Linked DNA regions of Homo sapiens: region 2 is linked to region 1. The links are contacts of gene promoters, found by promoter capture Hi-C in human tissues and cell types (Jung and others, 2019). All regions are on one chromosome and are shown on one strand. The core of a region is centred on a gene start or on the middle of the fragment in contact, and the rest is flanking DNA. Distances in the headings are between cores, read along the strand shown. Region 1 holds the start of CYP2A7 (cytochrome P450 family 2 subfamily A member 7). Region 2 has its middle 24 kb from the start of CYP2A13.

Evidence for each region. The method cuts DNA at HindIII sites, captures the fragments that hold promoters and counts their contacts. A contact is called where the count stands out against the background at its distance.
Region 2: a fragment that was not itself captured here is called in contact with the fragment with the promoter of CYP2A7 in region 1 in 1 of the 25 tissues and cell types used here (H1 embryonic stem cells).

Annotation. Positions count from the first base shown.
Region 1 is chr19:40,879,396-40,884,033 of GRCh38, forward strand. It overlaps CYP2A7 (cytochrome P450 family 2 subfamily A member 7), which reads right to left and starts at 2,836. Exons shown (of 9, transcript NM_000764.3): 1 at 2,636-2,836; 2 at 2,194-2,356; 3 at 1,084-1,233; 4 at 689-849. The coding sequence starts at 2,815. The HindIII fragment of the contact is 10,061 bases long and covers 1-4,638 here.
Region 2 is chr19:41,062,409-41,067,046 of GRCh38, forward strand. It overlaps the pseudogene CYP2G2P. Among named protein-coding and RNA genes, the nearest start is that of CYP2A13, 24 kb to the right of the region's middle. The HindIII fragment of the contact is 5,575 bases long and covers 1-4,638 here.

The sequences.
Region 1 (4,638 bases), core at 1,586-4,085:
GTATTAAAGTGGGGCTGGTGAAGATGTTGAAGTGCAGGGGATACCTGTTGAGGTGTTTACCTATCCAAGTGCGATGCACAGGGAGCACCTCTGTAAGGTGTGTGATTGGAAAGGGTTGGGGAACACTTATTTGTGTGTCAGGGAACAATCTGTCTAGATATTTGTGTGTTTAAGGTGTTGGTTAGGGCAGCTGTCCATGTTTTCAGGCATTTAAGTGGGTGAAGTAGAGGGCGCTTGGCCAGATATTCCAGTGGGCTAATCTGGGACATTTGTGTAGATGTGAAATGATTATGATGGGCTGGATTTTGCAGCACCAGGTGTTCAGGCATGCAGGAGGCGGGTTGACGCAGTCATTTGTCCAGGTGTTAAAATATTCAGAAGAACTGGGTAGGGAGCATCTGTTAGAAATTACGGTAAGTTGGGGATGGGAACACGTGCCCAGGTGAGAGAGCTGAGCTGAGGGTATGTATCCTACCAGCAGGCTCTGTTTTGGGGAGCATCTGTTGAGCTATCCAGGTGTCCTTGGAGACAGGCTTCTGGTGCAACTGTCCAGTTGTCCAATATCGGGGGCTGATTTTGAGGGGACACTGTCTGGAGCGGGGTGGGAGTTTGGGGCACCTGTCTCCAGGTAGGGGAGCAGTTGGCAGGTTGTGGTAGGGGCGTCACGGGCCGGGCTGCAGCCAGTTACCTGCCCCGTGGAGGTTGACGTGAACTGGAAGATTCCTAGCATCATGCTCAGCAGTGACAGGAACTCTTTGTCCTCATAGTCAAAGCGGTCCCCAAAGACAATGGAGCTGATGACATTGGAGACTGTGCGGCTCAGGAAGAAGGTGGGATCGATATTGGCGCCTGCGGGTGTGGAGGGAGAAGGGGGTTGGGGAGAGAGTCAACTCAGAGGTCTGAGGAGAATCAGAATTCCAGGAGGCAGGGCCTTGTTGAGCCAAATTCCCAGCGCCAGACTCCAGGGCTGGAAGTGCGGGCGCCTTTCCCCACCTAGTCCCCATCCGCAGGCAGAACGCGCGCGGGTTCCTCGTCCTGGGTGTTTTCCTTCTCCTGCCCCCGCACTCGGGGAACCTTACTCACCGTGCGTGCTCCGGATGGCCTCGATGAGGAAGCCCGACTCCTCCTGGATGCGCTCCTCGATGCCTCGCTTGCCCACCCCGAAGTCCCTCAGGGTGGCGATGGCAAAGCGCAGGAGCTGCTTGGCGCGCTCCCCGTTGCTGAACGCCACGCCTGGGGAGGTCAAGGCGGGGGTGGAGAGAGGTCAGGGGGCGGCGGTGGCAGGAGCGGACCAGTTCCAAGGGGCTCCCCAAGGGTGGAGCAGAGGGGTAGTGGGGTGGGAGAGAGATGGATTCAGTGCCAGTGCCCAGGACAGGTGCAAACTCAGTCAGAGAAACACGAGGGAGAGAGAGAGAGAGAGAGAGAGAGAGAGAGAGAGAGAGAGAGAGAGAGAGAGAGAGAGAGAGACCGGGTAGAAAGAATAAGAGAATCAGAAGAGAAACAGAAAGGCCAGATAGAGATGCGCAGAGAAACAGAGGGATAAGGGGATACTCCATGGAGGAAGGGTAGGAAGTGGGGAGAGAAAGAGAGAGATGGAGGAAGAGGATGGAGGGAGGGGAAGTGAGATATGGGGAGATCTGGGAGGAGGAAATAAAAATGGTGAAACATTCTTAAGCTGAGCTGGAGAAGAGAGAAAAATACTGAGACAGAAACAGAGAGGGTCTGGAAGGAAGAGAGACTGTTACCAGGAGATGGAGGCTGGAGATGTGGAAGTAAGAATAGCATGAAATCCTAAGGGAGAGGAAAAAGTGAGAGAGGGAAGTGGAGAGAGGAGAAACATGGAGAAGCACAGAAGCTGAGAGCAACAAAAAGACAAATGAAGACAGAGGACCAGGGCTGGAAAACAGAAACCCAGGATGTCCTCAGAGATGGAGAGAGAGGGGAAAGAGGAGACTCCAGTGAGAGAGAATAAGGAGGTGGGGCAGAGAGAGGCAGGGAGGAATCACGACAGGGACGCTGGAGACAGGTGAGGGATACACATGGAGAGGCCACAGTGAAGGGAGATGGGGAGATAAGACCAGACCGGGGGTTCTGCCATAGCCTCCAGTGGGCAGGAGAGTCAGGGAGAAGGCTGGCAACACTGAGACCATCGTGTCCGCCTGGCCACCTTCCCCATCTTGGGCACCCCCTCACCATAGCCTTTGAAGACCCAGTCGAAGGTGGCTTGCTCGCCTCGCCCGCTGAACTCCTCAGCCTGGTCCACCAGAGCCTCCCTGACGGCATCATGTCCACACAGCACCACGACCCGCCGGGGCCCCAAGTGAATGGTGAACACGGGGCCATAGCACTCACTGAACTGATGGAGGCGAGTGGGAGTGGTTAGAGGGAGCAGCCCCCACTCTGAATGGGGCCCAGCACCGAGATGTCAAGTACTGGGATCCTTCACCCCCAGGTTCTCACAGTCAGGGAGCTGGACATCCCAAGATCCTGTCTTTCCTGGCTAGGACCCGGATGCTGAAACTCCAAAACTCCCTTTCCTAAGACTCTGGTCCACACTGGTCAATCCCCTGCCACAAAGCCCCAGCCAACTAGGCAGCCCCCACCCTGTGCCACCCATCTTCCTGCCTTGGGACACCTTCATGATGGAGTCACATATGTGCTCTGTGTTCAGCTGGAGGTAGTTTCCAATGAAGGGCAGTGGGGTGGGTCCCGGAGGCAGCTTCCCCCTGCTCTTCCTCTGCTGCCAGACAGACATCAAGACCATCACAGTCAGGCAGGCCAGCAAGGCCACCAGAAGCAGCCCTGAGGCCAGCATGGTGGTAGTGAGATGACAGATGGTGATGGGTGGGGTGGTTTGCCTTTATACTGCCTGAAAAAGAGGGATGGACTTTGGCTAATTACATAATCACCTTATTTCACCTCCCAACTACACGCCCCACCATGAATGCCACCTAGCTTGGGACACAGCCAGCAAGGGAGGATAAGGGGACCCCAGGGCAGCTGAACAGAGAGGGGGCCTCCAGACTAAATCTGTGGTACTTCAGGAGGGGTGCCGCAGGGCTGTGGATTTAGGAGGGGGCAACCGATAAACTGTAGAACTGAAGAGTTTGGAATATTTGCATAGGGGAGCACTTGGGCTTTGGATTTGGGGTCTGAGAGTGAGAATGCACCCCAAAGTTGTGGATTTGGGCATTCCAAGGGAGAGGAATCCAAAGGTCTGGGTTTTATTAGGGTGAGATGGAAGTGTGGCTGTGCATCTGGAGGTCTTCTGTTGCGGAGGATGCAGGGTTAAGGGTCTCAGGAGGGGGGACTCCAGGCATATGGACTTGAAAGTCTCGGGGCTAGGAAGACCCAGGGCTGTGGGTGTGGAGTTTCTGGGAGGAGGAGTGTGTAGCAAGCCAGCAGGTGCTCCCAGAAAGCCCAGCAGCCCAGCAATGGGCCCAGGGGCTGACTTGATTTTGCTTTTGCCCAGAGCTATCTCTTGATGCCCAGAATCCTCATTGGAACCTCAGAGTGAGGCCAGGATGGGTGCCATGGAACCTCCACTGCCCATCTCTGGTTGGGAAAGGGGTGGAAGACCAGGGCCATATTTCAGGGGAACTTTCCCCACACCTGGAGAAGAGTACCTGGAGTTAGCGGTTGGCAGAGGGATTGGCTAGGTCTGGAGAAATAGTAATAACAACCCCCAAATGGTGGAAAAATCTCAAGTGTCCCAAGGGTTGTCCGCTGGTTTCCAACCCAGATCCTCAGGGAAACCCACTAGATTGATTGTATCATCCCTATTAATATTATGATTGTTGTTTATGTTTCTCATTTTATATAAAGATCTACAGAGGACAGAAAACAGACAGTGGGCAGGGGACATGTGTGAGTGGCCCTGAACTCCCATCTCTCCTGCTCTGTGTACTTAGTTCCCCTTTCTGGATTTGGTTTTCCTGCCAGTGGAAAGGGAGTGTTTGGGAAGAGAAGATCACATTTGAGGGTGAGTTAAGTCTCCTTTAAGGGCGATTCCTGCTTTGTCAGGGGCTACTACTATTAGCAGGCAGAGGGAACAGTCGCAGAAGAGATTGGGGTAAACTCCAGTGTTAGGCACAGAGGCAGATCCTGGGGTGGGTGTGAGTGGAGAAGGGATGAGTAGCCCTCCTGTCCTTCCTTCAGGGAAATTCTTCCTTAGTAAACAGGACAGTTACCCTTTGGTGAGCATGGTCATATATGGGAAGATTAAGTCTAGGTGTGTATGATCTGGTTGAATCTTTGTAACAGTGAGGTTGGTTCATCGTGATCATCCTCATTTTGAAGATGAGCAGATCTAGACTCCATAAACCCTCTTGAGTGAGGTCACACAGGGAGTAAGTGAGGGAGCTGGGATGTGAACTTTCTCCTCGCCCCCCTTCATTGACTGGCCTAGATCACCCTGGGAGTCAAGTGCGGGCCAGCCTTAGCAGGAGGTGAGTGCTGAGACTGGCATCAGCAGTGGACACACTGATGACATTGGCGGGTTCTGATATCAGCATCAGGTATGGCCAGGGAGGGAAAGGCATCGTGTTGGCTTTGGGACTGCCCCCAGGTGTATGCGAGGATGGGAAACAAGTTGGCACTGAACTTGACACCAGGAGAATATTGAAGTCATGTTTGGTG
Region 2 (4,638 bases), core at 1,466-3,965, 180 kb after region 1:
TGCCAGAAAGATGGTGACAGCCCCTCCCATCTCCATGGTGCCAGGTCAACAGGTTCTGTCCTGGGCACCAGATCCTGCCTAAATAGGTCCTGGGAGATCAGCTTATACCGAAATCTGAACACCCTGGGATTCAAGTTTTCCGGGTCTGAATGTCATTGGAGAAGAGATTGCTTTATATGGGAGGTGGTTATATAACCTATAATCTCCCACCTGAGTAAGGGTAGATTGAATTCACAAAGGGAAATCCTCTGGGGCCATTCCCCTTTCTTCAAATTTCCAGTCTCTCTGTTCTTCTCTCTCAGCTCAACAGAATTGAACAGAATTTTTTGGTGGGGTGTAAGAGGCAGATTATTACCTTTTTAGGCTATTGATTTTAGGATCCAGACAATCTGAGTACAAGCGGCAGCTCTGTCTTTTCTTCACTGGGCAAGTCACTTAACCTCTGGGACTTGTTTCTCCATCTATCAAATAGGGAAACCATGTTGTTTTATTTTATTTTATTTTATTTTACTTTTTTGAGACAGATTATCACTCTGTCACCCAGGCTGGAGCATAGTGGCGTGATCTCATTTCACTACAACTTCTGCCTCCCGGGTTCAAGCAATTCTCATGCCTCAGCCTCCCAAGTAGCTAGGACTACAGGTGCACACCACTATGCCCAGCTAATTTTTGTATTTTTCTAGAGATGCGGTTTCACCATGTTGGCCAGGCTAGTCTCGAACTCCTGGCCTCAAGTGATCCACCCCAATCAGCCTCCCAAAGTGCTGGAATTACAGGCGTGAGCCACCGCAGCTGGCAGACCATGTTGTTTTAGAAAGTCTTGATAGACAACAAGGAAAACTCTTTGTTCATTATTTAATTAAGGATAACCTTAATTAATCAGTTATTAGATTTTTTAAATTGACACATAATAATTGTACATATTTGTGGTATATATATGTACATAATAATTGTACATATGTGTGATGTTTTGATACATGTATGCAATGTATAACAATCAAATTCGGGTAATTATTATATCCATTACTGAGACATTGTCATTTCTTTGTGGTAAGAACATTCAAAATCCTCTCTTCTAACTATTTTGAAATATGCAATGTATTATTGTTAACTACAGCCAGCCACCCTACTGTATAATGGAACACTAGAATGTTAATAAGGAAAGTAAGCTGAAGATTTAGAAAACAAGAGAAATAAATCAATTGAAAGGGTTTTGTTCAAAGAGTTCTTGTTTTCTACTCAAGTTAATGTTAAATAACAATAATCAAAGATTACCCATGTTGGTGTATCAGAAATTTGCTGTATCAAATTTAAAAAAAGAAAAAAAAGAACTTTGCTGTAGTGTGTGTCAGTGTGTGTGTGTGTGTGTGTGTGTGTGTGTGTTTTGAAAGTCTAAGGTGTAGAGATCACCTCTGAACCCCAGTCTCTGGAGGGGAATGTCTTAATAATCTAAAAAGTGATTAACTACCTTTTCTGCACCAAATATTTTCAAAGCCTTATTGTCCTGAAATGAACTTCCTGGATATTATATCCTACCCTCATGTACTATTTAACAAAATTCAATGTCCTTTTCATGCGACTGTATTCTCAGACTTGGAAACCGAATCCCTCAAGGTATCTGTAGGTTTGGGGAATGGGGTTTGGCTGGCTGAGCTGAGGCATCCTGTGTCCAGAAGTGGTGGAAATTCTGGGAAAGCTGAGTGACTCACACACAGTGCCACCTTTTGTCTCTTGGATCTGCTGCTAGAATGTCTTTCTTGGAGTAGAGACTCAGCTCAGCCCATCTCCTTTGACTCCCTTAGCTTTCACCTTCCCATCCCATTCTGATCCTCACCCCCCAGCACTTAACACCCATTCAGGACTAACCTCTTAACCATCTTGTGGTGGTGGCATGTGTGTGGTGATGGTGGTTGGTTGTGAGTCTGGTTTTCCTATTCAGACAGGAAGGGAGAGAGCAAGTACTCTTAGAACAGCTCCCTTCACCATCCCACCTCCAGACAGGAAGCCAGGAATGGAGGAACTTGAACTAAAGTTCAGCTGGAGTTCAGTGGTGTGATCTTGGCTCACTGCAACCTCCGCCTTCCAGGTGCAAGCGATTCTCCTGCCTTAGCCTCCCAAGTAGCTGGGATTACAGGCACCCACCACCACGCCTGGCTAATTTTTGTATTTTTAGTAGAGATGGGGTTTTGCCAGGTAGGCCAGGCTGGTCTTGAACTCCTGACCTCAAGTGATCCACCTGCCTGGCCTCCCCAAGTGCTGGGATTACAGGCATGAGCCACTGCGCCCAACCAAATTTTTTTAATTTGTCACTTTGTGCCAGGCATGGATGGAGCTGTGTGCTTGACAAGCAGGGTATCCTCTAATCCAAACAACCAGCTTGCAAGGAAGGGCATGTTAAATAGTCAGAGATTATTCAGGTCACCCTAAAACAAATATTCTTATAACCTGAAGCTGCTGGATAAACTTTTTTTTTTAAACTCTGTGTAATACCTTTCATACAGAGGGGAAAGGCATTCAGATGTTTCAGGTGCTTGGAGGTATAGCTCTCATTGTCATCTGGTTTGATATATTAAATTCATATATGACTGTATTTGAGAAAAGGTTCATATTTCAGAGGCACCTAGATGTCTCCCAATATTTGTTTTCCCTGTCTTCCGTAGTAATAGAATTCTATCCAGCTACATGATTATCTAGAGTTAAAAACTACATTTCCCAAGCTCCCTTGCAGCTGCGTATGGCCGTGTAGCCAAGTTCTGACCAATGAGAAGTGAGTGAAAGTGATGCCTGCAACTTTCAGTTTATGCTTTTAGAGGGAGGGGCAAGGTTTCCTTCCAGAATATTTCCTCTTTCTGGCTAACTGGGATAGCAAGAGCAACAACTTAGGAAGGAGCAGCAGCAACATGGAAGGAGCCTGGGTCTTTGATATCAGTGAACTGCCTGATGAGCTCAGGGTTGCTTATGCAGAGCCATTAAGTGTAAGAAAATTAAATTTCCACAGGGCGCGGTGGCTCATACCTGTAATCCCAGCACTTTGGGAGGCCAAGGCAGGTGGATCACTGGAGGTCAGGAGTTCAAGACCAGGCTGGCCAACATGGTGAAACCCCATCTCTACTAAAAATGCAAAAATTAGCCGGGCGTGGTGGCACACACCTGTAATCCCAACTACTCGGGAAGCTGAGGCAGGGGAATCGCATGAACCCGGGAGGCCGAGGTTGCAGTGAGCCCAGAAGGTGCCACTGCATTCCAGCCTGGGTGACAGAACGAGACTCCATCTTCAAAAAATAAAGAAAGAAAGAAAATTAAATTTCCATCTTATGTAAGCCCCTTTAAACCACTGTTTTGGGTCTTTGTTATAGCAGTTAACCTATATCTTAGGAAATTTGGCTTCTGTGAAAAATGCTTGAAAAATCATTGAACCAAGATAAGTGCTTGTTGCCTTCTTTTTTATTGTTGTGTCTGAGTACCACCCATATATGAATTTAATGTTTCTTTAATTGACTCTCCTTTTTAAGAACTTAAATTCATTAAGATGGAACTTGGTATTTCTCCCTTTAATGGAAAATTAGCTATTTTCTATCATAACTAGAAAATACCTGTGTATTAGTTATCTAATACTACATAACAAAACAGCTCAACACTTAGAGGCTTAAGACAACAACGATTTGTTATTTCCCACAGTTTCTGTGTGTCAATGTAATTTAATGCCATACTCTCCCACATCCATGGGGAAGTCTTCCTGGTACTCATACCTGCCCCCAACTTCTTTTCTGCATCTCCTTTCACTCTTAAACTCAAGCTTAGGGTTCAAGTCTAAACACAGCATGTCAGAGCTTGAAGAGGTCTCAGAAATATTATTAGTTCAGTGTTTCTCAAAAGGTATAAAATGCATAATTTGACCCAATGTATACCCATGGAGTATAAATCATCAGTTGTGAGATACTGCAAGATTCCTTGTAAGGAGGATGTATGTATGGATTTGAGTATTACAGATGATGATAATAAACATATTTAACAACCAGGGCAGCACAAACATTGTCTGAAGATGGAGTAGGGTCCTAGAGGCCTCTGTAGTTGCTGAATTATGGGACTATTGGTAAGAGTGGTCCTGGAGAAGTGGTTGAATTTCCCATTTACCAACTGCTCTCGTTTGGATGTTTGTCCCTGCAAACCTCACATTGAAATTTGATCCCCAATGTTGGAGGTGGAAATTAATGGGAAGTGTTTGGTTCATGATCCAGGAGTTACCTGATGTCCTCCTCATGGTAATGAATGGGTTCTTGCTCTATTAGTTACCATGAGAGCTGGTTGTTTAAAAGAATTTGGCCATACCCTCTGTCTCTTGCTTCTTCTCTCACTATGTGATCCCTGCACATGCTGGCTCTACTTTGCCTTCTGCTATGAGTAGAAGCAGCCTGAAGCCCTCACCAGAAGCAGATGCTGGTGCCATGCTTCTTGTACAGCAGGCAGGACTGTGAGCCAAATAAATCTCTTTTTATTATAAATTACTCAGCCACAGATATTTGGTAATAACAACACTAAACAAACTAAAATACCAACCTCTATCAAAAGATGCTCTAATAGTCCAGGTGTGTTGGCTCACACCTGTAATCCCAGCACTTTGGGAGGCTGAGATGAGTG